Regions from separate parts of the Homo sapiens genome. Here all the other regions are linked to region 2. The links are contacts of gene promoters, found by promoter capture Hi-C in blood cells and fetal thymus (Javierre and others, 2016). All regions are on one chromosome and are shown on one strand. Each heading gives the region's core, a stretch centred on a gene start or on the middle of the fragment in contact. The rest is flanking DNA. Distances are from core to core; before and after follow the strand shown. Region 1 holds the start of ATIC (5-aminoimidazole-4-carboxamide ribonucleotide formyltransferase/IMP cyclohydrolase). Region 2 holds the start of LANCL1 (LanC like glutathione S-transferase 1). Region 3 holds the start of MDH1B (malate dehydrogenase 1B).

Region 1 (3,596 bases), core at 139-2,638, 4.8 Mb before region 2:
AGCAATGGCATCCTGGTTAATCATTTCTAAGTCCCTTCTTTCCATGGCCTAGTCAGCTAATGAAGGGCTTGTGAACGTGGGAATGAATGATTTGCACCTTCATATGGTTACCAGAGATTCTAAGGGAAGGCAGGTAAATTGGAATCTTCATGATGTCGAGTTTTATTAAATCACCAGTCAAAGTAACTGAAGTTTTCCTTGCATAACAAGTGGCCCACCTAAGTTAATCTGTTTAAGGAAGGGGCTAAGACTAGTGTCCTAAAATCAGGAACAGCACGGGTTCCAATCCTACTTTTCCCTTACTCAACTGTTTAAACTTGTGCAGAAGATGCTAAATCTGTCCAGTGTGTTGTCCAGGGTCTTTCTCTGTCACCCAGGATGGAGTGCAGTAGTGCCATCTCGGCTCACCACAACCTCCGCCTCCTAGGTTCAAGCGATTCTCCTGCCTCAGCCTTCCCAGTAGCTGGGATTACAGGCGTGTGCCACCATACCGGCTAATTTTTGTATTTTTAGTAGAGACGGGTTTCACCATGTTGGCCAGGCTGGTCTCGAACTCTTGACCGTAAGTGATCAGCCCACCTCGGCCTCCCAAAGTGCTGGGATTACATGCGTGAGCCACCTAGCCCAGCCGTCCAGGGTCTTAAAAGTTGCTAAATCTCTCTGAGCCTCACTTTTTTTCCCCATAAAGTGGGGAAGTATTACACCAACCTCACAGCGCTACTGGGAGGAGTAAATAAGGCGTTTTGCTGCTGGTGCCTGGAATACAATACTTCCTGGTTAATGTGATCACACTCCTTTCTGATGGAACTAGCTATGCCTTACCTGACTGCCAGACCAGCATCCCTGAGAGCTTTTGCAGTCCCTCCGGAAGCGACCAGATTCAAACCAAGAGCGGTCAGGTTTCTTGCAAATTCCACAAGGCCGGTTTTGTCAGAGACACTAAATAAGGCTGAAAGAGAAGACATTTTTTCTCATGATTCGCAGCACATTGCACTGTGTTCTGCAAGGCCTTGGGAGGGTCTGGGGGAGGAGATTCTCGAATCGCAAGGCCAGCACCTGGACCCTGCGTTCGCAGGCCTGGTCCGGGCCTCCCCAGGTCTTACACCCGCGAGCTGCTCTAAGGCGGGCCCCACGCAGGCTGCGGCCCGGCCGGGGAGCGGGGACGCTGGCTTTCAATCCCGCAGCGCCGCCCCTGCAGTGCCGGGTCCCGCCGGCCGCCGCCAAGGCGGGAGCGTGGGGGGCCGCAGGCGAGGACGCAGACCGCGCCGCTCCGCTAGGGCCTCACCGAGCTGGCCGGGAGCCATGGCTGCAGGCACTGGGTTCAGGGCGAGCGGGAGGCAGCAGCGGCGGCACCACGTGCGCAGGTAGGAGGGCTGCCGGGATGTGGCGGCTCAGGAAGCGAGGGGGCGGAGCTGTTTCCGGGCTTATCACGTGGCCCGCCGGCCCTGCCCGGCGCCCTGCTCTGCTCAGTTTCAGATGCAAGATCCGCGCCCCGGGGCTGAAGGGAACGGCGGGATGGGGTGGGGCTCTGCCTGGCGCGCCTGGGCGGAGTGCTTGGGCTGGAAGGGATCCTGCCTGCGATCCCGAAGTCCAGGCGTGGGAGCCAGCGATCTGCCCACGACCCCAAAGTGAGGCCACTCCACGGCCTCTGGGGCAAATGCCTGTTATTCTAGGCAGCCGGTCCCCAGAAGCTGGAAAGTACGTAAAAGTGCCAGAAGCTCCCATGCTGAAAACTAAACAAAAGGAATAGTTCATATAGCGGCAAAGCTGGAAAGTATCTGGACAGTTATCTACCATCCTCCCTTTTTGTTTGTTGTTTTTTTGTTTTTCTGGGTTTTTTTGTTTTTTTTGTTTTTTTTTTTTTTTTTTGAGATGGAGTTTCGCTTTTGTTGCCCAGGCTGGAGTGCAATGGCGCGATCTCGGCTATGTCACGTGCAACCTGCAACCTCCACATCCCGGGTTCAAGAGTTTATCCTGCCTCAGCCTCCCGAGTAGCTGGAATTATAGGCAGGCGCCACGATGCCCGGCTAATTTTTGTATTTTTAGTAGACATGGGGTTTCGCCATGTTGGCCAAGCTGGTCTCAAACTCCTGACCTCAGGTGATCCGCCTGCCTCGGCTTCCCAAAGTGCTGGGATTACAGGGGTGAGCCACCATGCCCAACTTGTTTTTTGTTTGTTTGCTTGCTTGCTTGTTTGCTTGTTTGTTTTGAGACAGGGTCTCGCTCTGTCTCCCAGACTGGAGAGCAGTGGCACCATCTCAGCTCACTGCAACCTCTGCCTCCCAGGTTCAAGAAATTCTCCTGCCTCTGCCTCCACACCCGTCTAATTTTTTGTTGTTGTTGTACTTTTTTTTTTTTTTTTTTGTATATTTAGTAGAGATGGGGTTTCACGGTGTTGGCCAGGCCGGTCTTCAACTCCTGACCTCAAATGATCTGTCCACCTCAGCCTCCCAAAGTGCTGGGATTACAGGTGTGAGCCACCGTGCCCGGCCCCATCCTCCTTTTTAATAGGCTTAAAAAATAAAACCAAGGACCAATGATTTAAGTGAGGGACTCCAGAGGCCACAGATGACAGTCAAAACGAAGTGAAATTGACATTCGTTGTTGATTTTCACGTCATAAAATTATAATTTAAATATTAATTTATAATACTATTTTATACAATTTAGTCAGTATTGTAAAAGTGCCTAAAAACTACTTAAAGATGGTGTCTTCTTGCAAACCTGTAAATATTCCTGGATGAGAGGAATGATGACAGTCAAAAGAAGGTAAGAGAAGACCTTTCTTAATTCATTAAAAACAGGGAAAGCAAAATTGAACACATTTGTTTCTTTCTAAAAATGACACCTTTGCCACAAAATAAATACATATTGTGGTCTATGAGTCTTTTTTGTGTTATTAGAATTATATTCCAAAGTAATAGCATTGTTTATCTTTTAGTCTGAGCTCACAGCTGTAAAAATGAGTCTATTTTCTCATTATCTGCATGCTATTTATTTTTGTTTTTCCTCTTCCTTTCTCTAATTCTTCCCATCTCTTTACTCCCCAAAATAAATACCTATTGACTAGAATCAATTTTTTTTTTTTTTTTTGAGACAGAGTCTCGCTCTGTCACCCACACTCTCGCTCTGTCACCCACACTGGAGTGCAGTAGCGCGATCTCGGCTCACTGCAACCTCTGCCTCCCAGGTTCAAGCGATTCTCCTGCCTCAGCCTCCCGAGTATCTGGCACTACAGGCGCGTGCCACCATGCCTGGCTAATTTTTGTATTTTTAGTAGAGATGGGGTTTCGCCATGTTGGCCACGCTGGTCTCGAACTCCTGACCTCAGGTGATCCACCTGCCTTGGCCTCCCAAAGGGCTGGGATTGCAGGCGTGAGCCACCGCGTCCAGCCTGGAATCAATTTTTTGACCTCTAAATATGTTAGCCCTTTGCTCTGAACACTTCTCACATTCCTACGAGGAATATATTAAGATTATCGCATGTCTTCAGTGTGTTTGCCAAATTTGAATTTAAAAAGGATATTTCCTTGGCCAGTCACCATCAGGTTTTTACAGGAAATCGAAAGCAAGGAAAGGAGAAAACAATGCTGACAT
Region 2 (3,751 bases), core at 1,093-3,592:
CACTTGCTATGGTTCTTTGTGTGGCAGCCTGAGTAGATAAATACAAACAATAAATGTTAAATACTTTTCTTTTGTATCAGAACCAAGGAGGGATTCTCTGGGTTGGTTCTCTGACAAAAAGGAAGGAAGAAAGAGAAGGAAAGCAGGGAGGGAGGGAGGGAAGGGAGGGGGGAAGGGGGGAGGGGGGAGGAGGGAGGGAGGGAGGGAAATATTATTTCCAGCAATTAAAATCTTTGGGTGTTTACAAGTCACATGCTTTGATTATATTTAAATTCTAAATAATTCTACTTCCCTTCCGTTTAGACGCATGCTTCACATCATCTTCAGAAGTAAACTCCAGATAAAGACTTAAATATAAGAGGTAAAAAGCTAATAAAATAAAATGTGGGAAGTCATTGCAGTCTATGAGTAGACAAAGACATTTTGAATATGAAGCTAAATCCTCAAATCACAGTGTCACAATTAGATGGGTTTAACTTCATCGAAATGAAAGATTGTGATTCAATAAAGGATATCCTAGAAAATGTGAACAAACTAAAGAAAGTATCTACAATAACTAAAGTGAAAGGAGATTAATATACAGAATATACCCCACAAACACGGGAAAAAAAGAAACAAAACTCTTTCAAATCAACAGGAAAACAATGCAATCACTAATAGAAAAATAAATAAAGGAACAGGTAAAGCCCAATTGTCTAACAGGTATATGAAGGAAAGTTCAACACCATTAGCCACAGAAAAACTAAAAGATTAAACATCAGTGAGATTCTACATTATTCATTAGAATGGCAAACATTAGAACACTAGATAATACCAAGTGTTGGAGAGGAGATGGAAATGACAGAAACAATTGATATGTTGGAGTGAATACTCTTGGAGTGAACAATAGATACTGTTAGAGGGAATATAAACTAGTCCAGCAGTTTTGGAAAGCAATCTAACAACATTGGGGAAATTAAGTACAGAATCTCATATGATCCAGCAATTGACTGCTGGGTGTATGTCTCAGGGATACTCACACAGATTCATAAAAGCACATGTTCCAAGAATATTATTTGTAGTATGGAAGTTAGAAACAATGTCCATCATTAGGGGAAAGGATTAGTAAAATAAGATAGAGGCATACTATGAAAATATACAATTACCATCCTGCCTTGCTTAACAACAGTAATATTTAATTGCTTAAAGACTGTGAGTGGGATAAATGGATAGCCTTTAATCATTAAAGAAAAAATAATTGATAAAATGTCTCTCGTTTTCCTTTTCTCTCTTGTGAGTTGCTCCTTCAAACACCCATCTTTTAAAACATGAGAGATATCCAGCTTAAGACTCACCATGGGCCTCGGCTAAATCTTCATGAATTTGATGAGGTTAAGAAAGCAACTACATTTCCTAAGAAAGCAACTATTTTAAAAGAGCAAACCTGGGTGTGGGGAGGGATTAGGAGTAGAGTTTGGGATGGCAGCCTCAGAAGGACAAACTTAGGCCAAGGAGGGAGGGAGTTGGGGTGGAGACTGAGCTTCTCCAGTTGGAGGTCTGGAGCTAGGACTCTTCATTGAAACCGGAGAGAAGGAAAAGGAGAGAGTGAGGCTGACTTTTTAACTGAACTCCAAAATTCTCTGAGCAATAGAATGGGCCTAATATGTACCAGGTGGGATTTAATTTTAAATGAAAGAAAAATGTTTCAGATAGCAGGGACTGTTAAAACATTGAAATTGAATGTTGTGGATCTCCTGCTGTGTTGGTTTTCAGTATTTTTTAGAGCTTTGTTATCCAGTATTATAGTCCAATTTAGGCTAAGGAACAGAATAAATTTCCTAAGAGCTGTAATTTGTGTTTTCATGTGCTTTCCCCAAAGTATTATCAACTGCTATTTGATATCCTGTCCTTTGGGCATATTTTTGTTGTTGTTGTTGTTAATGATGGTGGTGCTTTTTTGTTTGTTTGTTTTAAGAAATGAAAAGAAAAGATTGGCAAGTCCCTGGAGAGACATTATCCCCCCACCCCCCGCCAAATTTTATCTATTGCGAACAGCAGAAATACCAGCATGTTCAGATCTAAAAGCAGTCTGTTTCTTCTCCAGGTTAAAAAAATATATACTTCTTATGACTCTGGACTTAAATTTGACTTTTTAAAAATAAGAAAAATTAAAGAAGGGTAGGAAATATTGGTCACATCTCCGCGTGATTCTAGGTCCTCACTTCTGCTACCCAGTAATTAAAATACCCTGCGTTATCCTTTAGAAATTACACGCCTGTGTCTTTAACAAACTGTAAGAGAGAAGGGGGCGGGTCTCGGGAACGGCGAAGGCTCTGATTGGCCCTCCTGGCAGGAACTGGGCGGTAAAATAGCCCTTCTGTTACTGTCCGGGGCTGCGGGGTGAGAGGCCAGGGCCGAGAAGGGCTTCAGGACGCGGGAGGCGCACTTGCTTCAAGTCGCGGGCGTGGGAACGGGGTTGCAAAACGGGGCCTCTTTGTCCGGGTGGGTTAAGGGCCCTGGCAGCTTTTTCGCGAAGGCGCCATGTCCTAGCAGTTGGGCCGCAGTGGGCCCGAGGTCCACTCGGACCGCCGAGACGGCTCGATGGCCCTGGAGCTGGAGGAAGGGGGATACCTGGGCGCCGCCGCCGCCCTCGCAACTCGGCCGAGGCCCCTATCTCAACCTAGTTTCTGTTTTTCCCCTGTTCTGCAGGCTTGCTTCCGGCGTCATGGCTCAAAGGGCCTTCCCGAATCCTTATGCTGATTATAACAAATCCCTGGCCGAAGGCTACTTTGATGCTGCCGGGAGGGTGAGTTTAGGATATGTCTGCCTGCATCCCTGCCTCTCCCCACGGTGTTCGGAAAGGTGCTCATTTTTGCCTGAGAGAGTTGAGCATCCCCCTTTAAAAAAATACATGATTCGACGATAAATACGTAAATTATTTAAAAATACATGTTAATATATACAAATTGAGCTCTAACATAATGTTAAATGTGTCATTGTTAACATTATTAATTGAAATAAACTCAATTATTGATAGTATAAATTTTAAAAATTGGCAAATATGTAGTTTACTATGTAATTGGCATTTTTTAATGTATTTTGGTTTGCTTCTTAAAAAGAGGTGAAGAATCCTAACGGTATTCACATGTGCCGTGTTACTCCTTTGTGATTATACACAAGTGCGTTCAGGGTAATGATGAGAGCAAACGGTGGTGTATGGTAAGGACGTCTTTAAACTGTTAGTGCTTAGAGAATTTGGGGACCTAGGAAACCTGAAGTTCTTTGTACCGGTGTCACTCCACAGGGCATATCCACAGCTGGAAAACAAAAAAAAAGAAACTTGTAAATTAAACTGGTTAGCATGTCACAAATCACTGTGCAAAAGAGAACCTGGATGTAAAATACTAGGGGCCTGTGTTTTCTCATGCCTCATTGGGTGAACATAATTGTTAAGAGGGAATACAGATATTTTTAAGAATACCTACTTTTGGCTGGGTGCAGTGGCTCACACCATTAATCCCGACACTTTGGGAAATCAAGGCAGGAGGATTGCTTAAGGCCACGAGTTTGAGACCAGCCTGTGCAACACAGCAGGACCTTATCTCTACTAAAATTTTTTTAAAAATTAGCCAGGTGTGGTGGAAAGCTTGTAGTCCCAGCTACTTGGGAGGCTGAGGCGGGAGAATTGCTGGAGCCTAGGAGATTCGAGGCTGTAGTGAGCTATGATTGCACCACTGCACTCTAGCCTGGGTGACAGAGACCCTGTCTCTAA
Region 3 (3,786 bases), core at 1,124-3,623, 3.7 Mb after region 2:
CCCTGGGGATGGTAAATGTGGAAGGCTTTCATAAATTTCCATAGCAAAAGGAAGAAAATAGCTAACTTAAGGCCTCTAAATCATATAATATATATGCAGAAATAAATATAAAGGAAACTACCATTCCATTTGATAGTCTCTTTTAAGAAGGCTACATATCTATATCCCTTCATTCTTTCAAAATATTCTAAATCAAGTAAATGCATGTTTAAATCTCCTTTTTATTTTACCTGGGTCACCCTCAGCAAAGTCTGCACCAAAATAGTGTTCTGAGGGATTCCAAGCTTCACTATGGCGTGAAGACTGAACAGTAGGTACTTATACTGCATGATCTTGGCTTCTCTCATCATATGTTCACAGAGCTGATTAAATGCAGGGTGGCTAAACATCAGTCGTTTTTCAAAGCGCTTCTGGTCATCAGACAGTCTTTTGGCAATTGTCCACATTGCTGTGAAATAGTTGCTACTAGGAAATGTGGGCGCTTTTGAAAATGCATCTAACACATCACTCAGGGAATTACATTCCTCAGACAGTTTTCTACTGCTGATACGGTTTGGTTTTGTTTCCTTGGTAAGAACATCTTCATTGGAGACTTCATGATTAAGGTTTACTTTCTTCAATTCATCATCAGATTTATCAACAGGGACAAGAGACTGCTTTGAGTCAAAAAACAGTCTTTTAGCATAAAGTAGTCTTTCAATTCTAAGGGCTGTTAGAGTGCTTATGCCCTTTGTTTGAAAGCCAACATCTGATTTAAAAATGAATGCATCCTGAAAGAGATATCTAATGATATCAGTTGATTGCATTCTGTTATGAAAGTTATTTAAAATGTTCCAGTTTGAATGAACTATTTTTGGTTTGCAAAGTCCCAAACAACATAGCCTCATAGTTCTGCTTGTTGAAACTAATGTACTGAATTGTCTAAGGTTCCAGAAAAAGGAGCCCGCTTTGTTATTCATTTTGCTCTCCACTGAAACACTTCCAAATGGCTTCAAAGTTGTCAACATGAAACCAACGTCACTTCTACTAGTGAAAAAGAACACGTGCTGTCGTTTTCCTGTAGGGGAAGAAGTAATGAAAAGAATAAAAATTAAAACAAAACTTTTACTTAAAGAAATGAAATGCATTTAACAGAAGAGAAAATGGGGAACCTATGGAGCCATTAAACATTTACATAAAACAGTAAAAGTTTTTTTTACCAATGTGGGCTCCCTCCAATCTACCACAATGTGTCCAGTTTCAAAGAAGCCAGGTCACTTTGGAAGTAGTCATTGTATTAATGAGATTTTTCTGGTGCAAAAGCGTTCCATAAAGCTTTCTCTGTAGGAGAGACTTTTGTTGGCATTGTTATGGAAATGTCCTCGGTGAAAATTAGGGGATTAGCATTGATAGATCATTTTCTTTTCTCTTCTCTGTTTTTTTTTTTTTTTTTTTTTTTTTTGAGACAAAGTCTTGCTATGTCCCCCAGGCTAGAGTGCAGTGGCGCGATCTTGGCTCACTGCAACCTCCACCTCCCAGGTTCAAGCAATTCTCCTGTCTCAGCCTCCCAAGTAGCTGGGATTACAGGCGTATGCCACCACGCCCGGCTAATTTTTGTATTTTTTGTAAAGACGGAGTTTCACCATGTTGGCCAGGCTGGTCCTGAACTCCTGACCTCAGGTAATCCACCCGCCTCGGCCTCCCAAGGCGTGAGTCACCGCGCCCGGCTGATAGATCATTTTCAACATGACGATTTAGCAACGGCCGAACCCAGACCATCAAGAATAGGGACCTGGGCAGGTAGAACGGCTCAGTGGAAGAAGCAGAAAACGAAAGCGATGTCTGCACGTGGCCTGCGCTTAAGAGGAAGATCTTATACAACCAGCCAGCCTCACCAGACCCCAGAACCAACTTCAAGAGCCTGTCCTTCCGCAGCTGGGCCGCCCAGCATTAACCCACCTCCTTTAAACTTACTTCCAGGACAACTCGTGAGACTCTTCTCCTCGAAGTAAAAAGTCTAGGATGTGATACGGGCTGCCGCTAAGCCCAAGCTCGTCCTCCACTCACCTTAGAGCACAAGACCGTGACTACGTACAGGAGCAGCCATGACAGCTTCCCCGAGAAGCTGCGCTTCTCACGAGATCTTACGGATTCCCTCAAAGGTCAAAAAGCATATGTTCGCGGCTGTAGCTGAAGGACTTACTTGAAGAAAGTTTACCAAGGAGAATGACTAATTTCCCTGCATACAGGAGTGGGGCTCGGGGATACCACAGAGCTTATAAGGGCGATGTTTGATCGTGTATCGCAACGTAACCCATTCAGGTCCTAACTTTAAACACCTAACCTCTGCTGGGCGCCAGACTTTGTAGTGCGCCTGCGCCTTGCCCTTGGCTGCGTGGTTGCCAGGAAACCGCGAAGCCGCGGTCCCTGCCTCTGAGTCTCTCTCGACCATGGCCAAATTCGTCATCGCGGGTGAGTGATCCCCGCGTCCGCCCGCAGATTGCTCAAAACGCCGACAACAGCTCACCTCCCATGGCCGCTCGGCTTGGCAGCCTCTATACGGACCGCTCCATGCTTTGCTATAGATTTATTCAAAGTTTTTTACTGGACCGTGACGGTGCGCCAAGCATTGTGGGACACTGGGGATGCAATGGAGGGAAACATATCCCTGCCTTAGAGGAGCTTTCAGTCTCATGGGGCACAGAACATGTACTTTTGATACGGTGTGATTAACGCGATGAAGGAGACCTGCACAGGCCTCTGGGAGCGTAGACTCCTAATCTGGGTTTGGGGGATGAGGGAGAGGTGGACACAAGGAACTGGCTGGGGAAGGTATTACAGGAGCTGAGTTGTGAAGGTGTGAGCTGAGGAGGCTATTCCAAATAAAAGCAGAGAGGCAGGAAGCTTCCTGGCCTAACAGAAGATCTGGATATGTGGGGCGTGACAGGACCTGGGGCTACAACAGGAGCAGGAGCCAGGTCCTTGCATTTCATGTAGGTCAAGCAAAGGTGTTTGAACTGTATCCTGAAAGCAATGAGGAATTATAGAAAAATTTTAAGCAGGAGAGTAGTCTTAATGAGTTTGCATTTTAGGAAGCCTGTCTTGGCAGCAACGGAGAGAATGATTGAAAGTGCTGGTTGACAGCAAGGACTCAACTGAGAAGGCTTTTATTACAACAATCCATGGTACCTACCTCCTCTCCTCGTAAAGTTTCTTAAAAGAGTAGACTGCTCTTCCATCTCCAGTTCTGCCTTCCAATCAGTCTTGGAAGAAGGCTTCTACTTCTGCTTCCTGACAGAAACTGCTGTCACCAAAGTCACCACTGACTTTTATAGAAGCTGTTTAGTCTTTGACTTATTTGATCTCTTTGATGCATTGAACACAATTGACATCTACCATCCACAGGAGATTTTTTTTTTTTTTTGAGACAGGCTCTCACTTTGTCACCCAGGCTGGATTGCAGTGGTGCAATCGTGGCTCACAGCAGCTTTGACCTCCTGGGCTCAAGCGATCCTCCCACCTCAGCCTCCCAAGTAGCTGGGACTACAGGCATACACCAGCATGCCCAGCTAATTTTTGTATTTTTGTAGAGATGGGGTTTTGTCATGTTGCCCACGCTGGTCTTGAACTCCTACGCTCAAGTGATTTGCCCACCTTGACCTCCCAAAGTGCCAAGATTACAGGCATGCACCACCACACCTGGCCCAGAAGAATATTTTTGAACACTGACTAACCACATGGTGGGAAGTCAGTGGAAAACACACAGAGAATGTTGCATGTATGACACTGACAGGGCAGGGTTCTATA

What was found. Contacts are between HindIII fragments. The CHiCAGO score rates a contact against its expected background, and 5 or more counts as called.
Region 1: the fragment with the promoter of ATIC here is called in contact with the fragment with the promoter of LANCL1 in region 2 in 3 of 17 cell types (total CD4 T cells, naive CD8 T cells and activated CD4 T cells); the score reaches 7.3 in total CD4 T cells.
Region 3: a contact is called between the fragment with the promoter of MDH1B here and the fragment with the promoter of LANCL1 in region 2, in 3 of 17 cell types (total CD8 T cells, naive CD8 T cells and non-activated CD4 T cells). The highest score is 8.1, in total CD8 T cells.

The regions. Positions count from the first base shown.
Region 1 is chr2:215,309,851-215,313,446 of GRCh38, reverse strand. ATIC (5-aminoimidazole-4-carboxamide ribonucleotide formyltransferase/IMP cyclohydrolase) reads right to left here and starts at 1,388. Exons shown (of 16, transcript NM_004044.7): 1 at 1,286-1,388; 2 at 823-949. The coding sequence starts at 1,304. LOC124907975 (a long non-coding RNA gene) reads left to right here and starts at 1,475. Exons shown (of 2, transcript XR_007088075.1): 1 at 1,475-2,768. RefSeq lists silencers at 1,044-1,413, 1,424-1,503 and an enhancer at 1,034-1,684. The HindIII fragment of the contact is 8,450 bases long and covers 1-3,596 here.
Region 2 is chr2:210,475,350-210,479,100 of GRCh38, reverse strand. It overlaps LANCL1 (LanC like glutathione S-transferase 1), which reads left to right and starts at 2,342. Exons shown (of 10, transcript NM_006055.3): 1 at 2,342-2,481; 2 at 2,689-2,785. The coding sequence starts at 2,705. It also overlaps a transcript of CPS1 not described here. The HindIII fragment of the contact is 5,337 bases long and covers 1-3,627 here.
Region 3 is chr2:206,763,915-206,767,700 of GRCh38, reverse strand. MDH1B (malate dehydrogenase 1B) reads left to right here and starts at 2,373. Exons shown (of 12, transcript NM_001039845.3): 1 at 2,373-2,451. The coding sequence starts at 2,430. FASTKD2 (FAST kinase domains 2) reads right to left here and starts at 2,095. Exons shown (of 12, transcript NM_001136193.2): 1 at 1,954-2,095; 2 at 231-1,057. The coding sequence starts at 1,007. RefSeq lists enhancers at 1,825-2,204, 2,455-2,594. The HindIII fragment of the contact is 1,569 bases long and covers 1,317-2,885 here.